Regions from separate parts of the Homo sapiens genome. Here region 2 is linked to region 1. Evidence: promoter capture Hi-C in 16 types of primary human blood cells and fetal thymus (Javierre and others, 2016). All regions are on one chromosome and are shown on one strand. Each heading gives the region's core, a stretch centred on a gene start or on the middle of the fragment in contact. The rest is flanking DNA. Distances are from core to core; before and after follow the strand shown. Region 1 holds the start of RNPS1 (RNA binding protein with serine rich domain 1). Region 2 overlaps CCNF (cyclin F).

Evidence for each region. Contacts are between HindIII fragments. The CHiCAGO score rates a contact against its expected background, and 5 or more counts as called.
Region 2: a contact is called between a fragment that was not itself captured here and the fragment with the promoter of RNPS1 in region 1, in 3 of 17 cell types (erythroblasts, M1 macrophages and endothelial precursors). The highest score is 7.4, in erythroblasts.

The regions. Positions count from the first base shown.
Region 1 is chr16:2,266,219-2,269,838 of GRCh38, forward strand. RNPS1 (RNA binding protein with serine rich domain 1) reads right to left here and starts at 1,908. Exons shown (of 8, transcript NM_080594.4): 1 at 1,837-1,908. It overlaps MIR3677HG (MIR3677 and MIR940 host gene), which reads left to right and starts at 2,445. Exons shown (of 3, transcript NR_132988.1): 1 at 2,445-2,625. RefSeq lists an enhancer at 1,716-1,975 and a silencer at 2,106-2,555. The HindIII fragment of the contact is 12,073 bases long and covers 1-3,620 here.
Region 2 is chr16:2,456,304-2,459,923 of GRCh38, forward strand. It overlaps CCNF (cyclin F), which reads left to right. Exons shown (of 17, transcript NM_001761.3): 17 at 242-2,551. The coding sequence ends at 717. LOC105371050 (a long non-coding RNA gene) reads right to left here. Exons shown (of 5, transcript NR_188689.1): 1 at 3,611-3,620; 2 at 3,410-3,533; 3 at 2,507-2,651; 4 at 531-663; 5 at 1-282. Among named protein-coding and RNA genes, the nearest start is that of TEDC2, 2.0 kb to the right of the region's middle. RefSeq lists enhancers at 2,280-3,094, 3,325-3,414. The HindIII fragment of the contact is 2,703 bases long and covers 1,011-3,620 here.

The sequences.
Region 1 (3,620 bases), core at 658-3,157:
GACCCAAGAAAGAAAAGCACCTGGCTTTGAACAGTCAAATGAGAGCCAAGGAGGGCCGAACGCCACCTTTGCTGCTCTTGTCCAGGGGTAAAATGTTTTGCTTTAGAACAGTAAGGTTCTGCAGACACCCAGCAGATAGTGCCTCGACACTCTTTGTGTCCTCGGACAATCAGTGAGTATCATTCAGAGTATAATTTAGAGTCTGGAGCCAGAGGGCCTGGGTTTGATTTGAGGTTTTACTGTGTGATTTTAGACAAGTCACTTATCCTTTCTCAAGTTTCTCATCATCAATATGGTGACAATTACAGTTCCAACCTTATAGTTACCCAGGGCATTAATTAAAGACTCGATAAATGTTAGGAGCAAGAGTTGTATCTCCACGTCCGGAGGCTCCTTCCCCCACAGACACTTGTCTCCAAAGTTACACTAATTTCTGAACTCTCAGCTGGGTTCCTGCACCCACCCGCCTTCGAATCACCTGCAGCAGCACTGTCCAATAGAAACCGTGTGAGGAGCCACAAGCATCACCTGAAATTCCTTAGTAGCCACGTCACAAAAATGGGTGAAATTAATTTTTAACGTTTGACACATCCAAAATATTATCTTTCCAACATATAATCAACATAAACATCTAATAAAAGTTTGCTTTTTTCCTAGTCTTCTAAAACTGGTGTGTGTTTTAATATTTCAGTCTTGATTAGCTGTATTTCACATGCTTAGCAGCCACATGTGGCCAATGGCTACTTGGCTGGACAGCACAGACCTAGAGTGGAGGTCACACCCGCAGATTCCAGCCCCACCCCCCCAAGAACTAAGATCTGCCCGAATGTACTTGGTGAAATCAAACACCACCAGTTATTCTTAAGCACTCCAAACACTAAGAACCACTGAGTAAGCGGACGCCTTGCTGGGTGCGGTCGAGTGCTAGAAAGCAAAAGTTGAGGTTCTCTGTTCACCCAAGTTCAGGTACCGGCTCAGGACCTCGGTTACCTCCCCCATCCTCCGGAAAGGTGCGCGTCCAACAGCCAGAGAGAGGAGAGAACAATTAGTTAAATCTCGAGGAGAGGGCGTTTCGGCACAAATCTTCAGAGCACCTTCCCCATTTAAAAGTACATTTCAGGCACAGTTCATGCGGAATCAAGACAAAAAGCCTACTCCACGTTTCTCCTCCAACAAACTTAACCTTCCCGTATCCGCCCCTCTGGGGTAACCCATCAAACTGAGCTCGGCCACCGTGCTCGGTCCATAGTGGGCCGTATCCCCACGGCCTAGCGCCGATAATTGCACACGGGAGTCCGGGAAACGTTCGCGGAGTACACGTTTGAATTAATGACTCCGAAGGGGGGATCGGCCGACCTTCCACCGCATCCCACAAAGAAACTCCGCGCCCGCCGACACCGGCCCGACACGCCGACCTCGCCGCTACCCGTCCGCGTTCACTCACAACTCCCCCGTCCAGGCGCCGGGCCGCGAGCGCTTCCAGGGCAGGGCCTGGCGTTGGGGGCTTGGGTCTCCGGCCCGGCGGGAGGGCCCCAAGGGCGGAGGCCGCGCTCCCCGCTGGTCTGAGTCCCGCGGGCCTGGCTGGGCCACCGCCGAGCGGACGAAGCACAGGCGCCCTTCCGTCCGCAGCGGCCCCGACCACTTCCGGGCCACGGCCTCGACACCTCCCACTCCGCCCGCCCCGGGCCACACTCTTTCTTCTCGGAGCCCGCACCGCGCTGCCAGGCCACCGCCGCACTGCGGGGCTGAGGAGTGGACCGGCTTCACGAGGCGTCCTGCCGGGCCTGCCGGGCAGCCCCCGAAACACGGATGCAGTCGGATTCCGCCCCAACTTACATCTTCCCGCCGCCGCCACCTCCTCCTGCTTTCCTCAGCCGCCGAGGCCGGCGCCGCTCTGACGTCAGAGTCAAGGAGCGGGAAGTCGCCGCCGCCCGGCGCGCAGCGATGACGTAAACGCCTGGCCCAATGGGCGCCAGCGAGGAAGCGTTAAAGAGTCAAGGCAGTTTGTGGGAGTCGCGCTGGGGACGTTCAAGGTGTCTCCTAGCCGGTAAAGTCCCTGGGACTGACCGGGCTGGTTGCACGCTTACTGGAGCGGGCACATGGGTAGCCTGTTGAACCTGGGAGGGCAGCGCGATGACCGAGGCTCGTCCTCCGGCGCGGAGGGTGTTAACGCGCCCGTGCCCCGCCCCTTTCCTTGCGCGGGCGCACTGGGCCCGCCCGGGCAGACTCCGGCCCCTGTCGCCGGCGGTGGAGGCGGGGCTCCGGGCCGGGCTGTGCTGAGGCCGGCGGGGTGGTAGCACAGGAGGGGTTCGCAGGCTCTGCGGCCGTGCGTGGCGGGGCGTGGGGGCCCGCAGGGCGGAAGTAGCTCGGAGAGACGGGCTGGGGCAGGGCGTGCGTTCGTGCGGTCAAAATCCACTGGTGGCGTTTGGGGTGTTCCCGTGGACGCGGCCTCCCGGCAGGCGGACCTCCACCGGGTGGGCGCGGCAGGCGGGCTGTGCGGGCAGGAAGAGCGACGAGCTTGAGAGTGGGAGATGGGGTGCAACGGCGGGCCTCTCCGGGGAGGTGACACTGCCGCTGAGACCCGAATGGAAGGGCGCGCCCGGCGGGGGAACAGCAGGCGCCGAGGTTCGCTGGAAGCAGGGAAGGGAGGCCCGGGTACCGGCTCGCAGGCCCGCGCGAGCTTCGCGGCAGCGGCACGGAGCGTGTGAACGGCGCAGCGCCGAGGCTTCATCCATCGGCCGGTGCAGGGTCCGGGCAGGGAGCACTGTCGACCAGGGTCCGACCCTGGGAGAGTCCAGAGGTGGCGCCTCTGGCAGGGACAGAGGAGGGGGTGACGCTGTAGGGGTGCAGGCAGGAGGCTCCGCGTCAACTCCCCACACTGACGGGGCGGATTTTTTTTTTTTTTTGACAGAGTCTCGCACTGTTGCCCAGGCTGGAGTGCAGCGGCGCGATCTCGGCTCACTGCAACCTCCGCCTCCCGGGTTCAAGCGATTCTCCTGCCTCAGCCTCCCGAGTAGCTGGGATTACAGGCGCACACTACCACACCCGGCTAATTTTTTTTGTATTTTTCTGGTAGAGACAGGGTTTCACTATGTTGGCCAGACTGGTCGAGAACTCCTGACCTCGTGATCCGCTCCTAGGTTCGCCTTGGCCTCCCAAAGTGCTCGCTCCTGGGCGTCCCAAAGTGCTGGGATTACAGGCGTGAGCCACCGCCCCCGGCCGAGGGCGGGTTTTGTTCTCTGCTGTGCCTGTCAGGCAGTCGTTGCCCTGTGGTTATTTGTGGAGGGATTGACGGTGCGCTGAGCTTCAGACTTTGTCTGAACAGCTTCGTGGCAGCAAGGAAGGGAGAAGGGAACAGATCCAAGCCGATCTTTGGGAGGAGAGAACCAGCATGACTTGGAGACTTTAGATGTCAGAGCAAAGGACAGGGTGCAGCTTGGTGACCCGGAGTGGGTGGGTGGGTGAATGGATGGATAGATAGTGGGGATGTGGTCTGCCATCACTGCCCTCTTCCCTGTGTGGGAAGCCAGCTCTTGGTGACTTCCTGCCGAGACCCACTCCCTCTGGCCCTGTCCGAGGGTGTCAAGTGTGCCCTTGACCCTTCACCCTGGGCTAAGGGA
Region 2 (3,620 bases), core at 1,112-3,611, 190 kb after region 1:
CGTCCACTTGGCTTGAGCTAGATGGCCAACTTGTCATCTCCACATTTGTTGGAGTCATGGCGGGCAGCTGTCCAACTTGGAAGAGGCATGTCACCCACGCTTCTCACCACAGGAGGGTAACACAGGGGACCGTAGCAAGGTAGAAGATTCTTGACCTGGACTTCAGGGTCCTGACCTGGCAGGGGGTCTCCCCTGATGCTTGGGTGTGACATGACTTCCCTCCCCACCAACCTTCCTGCAGTGACAGCTCCCAGCGGCATCCTCGATGTCACCGTGGTCTACCTGAACCCAGAACAGCATTGCTGCCAGGAATCCAGTGATGAGGAGGCTTGTCCAGAGGACAAGGGACCCCAGGACCCACAGGCACTGGCGCTGGACACCCAGATCCCTGCAACCCCTGGACCCAAACCCCTGGTCCGCACCAGCCGGGAGCCAGGGAAGGACGTCACGACCTCAGGGTACTCCTCCGTCAGCACCGCAAGTCCCACAAGCTCCGTGGACGGTGGCTTGGGGGCCCTGCCCCAACCTACCTCAGTGCTGTCCCTGGACAGTGACTCGCACACACAGCCCTGCCACCATCAGGCCAGGAAGTCATGTTTACAGTGTCGTCCCCCAAGTCCCCCGGAGAGCAGTGTTCCCCAGCAACAGGTGAAGCGGATAAACCTATGCATACACAGTGAGGAGGAGGACATGAACCTGGGCCTTGTGAGGCTGTAAGTGTGTCAGCACATTTGCCGCAGTGGATGTGTACTGAGGGGGCTGGAGGCGAAGGGTGGGAGCATAGCATAGGAACGCTGCATAGACCATGGAGGCCTTTGCGCAGAGAGCAGAGAGGATGACTTGCGGCCACCAAGTTTCTGTCTCCGCGGGAGTCCCGTGCAAGCCATCAGAATGTTGAAATGAGGGTGAAGAGCTCAGATCCCTCTCTTTGGAAAGTTTAGCCTGGAAGCAGTTGGCCACACTGTGTGGAGGGCACCTCTCTGTCCCTTCCGTGTCTCACTGTCTCTGGAAGCTTCAGCCCATGTGTGTCCTGGTGTTCCCAGCCCCACCAGAGCCCCGTGCCGGGAGCTGACAGCTTTCACGCTTAAGGCACGTGTGACCTGGGTAGTCAGACACCACTTGAGCCCCTGCCCACATCTGCTGGTTTGGGGCTTCAGTGGGGAGCTGACAGCTGTGAGCACACCACTGTCCCCTCATCCACCTCGGCCTGCATGGGGCACCCACTTCCTTCTGGGTGGGGCTTCCATGGTAAGGGGGCCTGCGTCCCTGCACACTGCGAGGACTGCCTTGGCCACAGGCCCACTCCCTACGACACGTGACTCGTTTTAGAGCTCTGTCCCAGAGGCGTTCGTATGTGACCCACAGATGGCGTCAATGTGAACACCTCTCTTTGTGCTGAATTTCTGGGCCATTCTTTTCCTGTCTTATTTCTAAATTTCCTTCTTCCAAGATGAAAACAAAAGAAAAACTTAAAACAGAAGGTATTAAAAAAACAAGAGATTCCCACCATTATTTAGGTTCACCTGCAAAACAAAAATCTTACTCCAGCCCCTCAATGCCATCCTGACACACTTTATGCAAAAAGAATTTTCCCAGATAGGCTAGCCAGAAAAAACTTCAAGTCCTCTGTAACATCTGAGGTGACCAAGAGGCAGAAGAGCAGAGCAGTCGGGGGCCGTGTCCTGGCTGATCCCAACTGCAGCTCTGCTGTGGGGGCCCGTGGGAGGGAGGCAGACCCCTGGGCTTTCCTGCTGGCCACGGAGACTCTGCTCCTGCATGGAAAGGGAGCCTGGGAGCCAGCAGCCCACGCCTGGGGAGCCTGCCTGGGGCCATGTGACCATGGCCTCTCCCTGGGAACGGGCTGACCACAACACACCCTGCTGCCATCCACTTCTGTTTACTCTGCAAATGTAAGAAAGAACCACTTGGCCAGAAGTGTCCCCCAGATGCTTTTTTTTTTTTTTTTTTGGAGACAGTTTTGCTCTTGTCTCCCCGGCTGGAGTGCAGTGGCATGATCTCAACTCTCAACTCACTGTAACCTCCGCCTCCCGGATACTCCTGCCTCAGCCTCCTGGGTAGCTGGGATTACAAGCACCCAACCACGCCCAGCTAATTTTTGTATTTTCGGTAGAGACGGGATTTCACCATGTTGGCCAGGCTAGTCTCGAACTCATGACCTCAAGTGATCCGCCCACTTCGGTCTCCCAAAGTGCTGGGATTACAGGCATGAGCCACGGCGCCTGGCCCCCAAATGCTCTTGAACCGGAAACCCAGGGATGGGAGATGCTCACTGAGCTGCTGCTTTTATGTGTGCTGGTGCTATGTGTGTTCATGTCCGCGGCAGCTGTCTTTTTGCTACTATAAGGGAATTCTGGCCACCCTGGGTGGGGTGTGGTCGGGGTGAGAACCCAAGCGTTGGAACTGTAGACCCGTCCTGTCGACTGTGTGCCCCTGGGCATGTGTGAGCCTCAGTTTCCTCATCTGTAAGGGGGGCAATGATACCTACCTCACAGGGGTGTTGTGAGGATTAAATGTGAGGAGGATAGTGGCAGATGAGTGATGGACGTCCTTCACTGCCTCGGCCCCTTGTCCAGGGGCTCTTAATCCCAACTCTGCATGGAGTCAGTTCTCTGCTTTCTCCCAGCTTGCACCTGAAGGAGGAAACCACTCCAGGGGGACCTGGCCCCGCCTGCCTGTGGTGGGTGGGTTCCTGCATCACCCACCTGCTGACTGAGCATTTCCCTGCCTCCTCCTTCACAGAGAATCTCCAGGGAGGCAGGGCCACCGTCACCCTCCCCCACCGCTGATGGAGGGGCCCACCCGGAGCGCTGGGCCAGAGCTGCCTGGGTCCCAACCTCCCTGACAACTCCCTTTGTGCCCTCCTTCCCCTCTGCGATGGCACCTTCCCATTAACGACTATGGAATGGACTCACCTGTCCCATCTTTAAACAGCAACCCCAGGCTCTGTTTTTCTTTCAGCTACCGCCTGGGATTTCTTGCCCCCTAATTGTTTATTCTTGTTAACACCAACTACATGGGGCCCTGCTGCCTTCCTCACTTCCTCCCTCAGGTGTCCCCCGCATCACCGAAGGCCCTGTACCCCCGCCCCCCTGCTGTGCTGTGTACACCGCCGAGGCCTCAGCAGCACTTGGCCTGTGACCCACTCCCTCCCGTGACAGCCTCCTGTTGCCTCTGTGACACTGTCCTACTGCTCCTCCACCTCCCTGGCCATTGCGTGGGCCCCGTGATCTGTCCCTACCCGTCCCCTGCCCCACCAGGGGCCACCTCGCCTGGCCCACTGCTCCAAGGTCTGAGCTTCCTCCCCTCTGCCCAGTGCTATCACGTCACATGTCCAAAAGTGAACACTTTCTCCTCCTTCATCCCCGCCCCTGACACGCGGAATCCTCACCTCCAGCAACCCCGTCCTGTCCCTGTGCTCGGTGGCCCAGGCGTCAGCAAGACGGCTGGTCCCTGCGTTAAGAGCACTTTCAATAAGGACAGATGGAGCCTCTCGTATAACCTTCACCGGCCCCCTGCAAGAGAAGCGCGATAATGGCGCCCCCATCTACCCAGTTACCCAAACCAAAATCCCGGCGTCGCCCGCAGTCACCTCCCTGGCG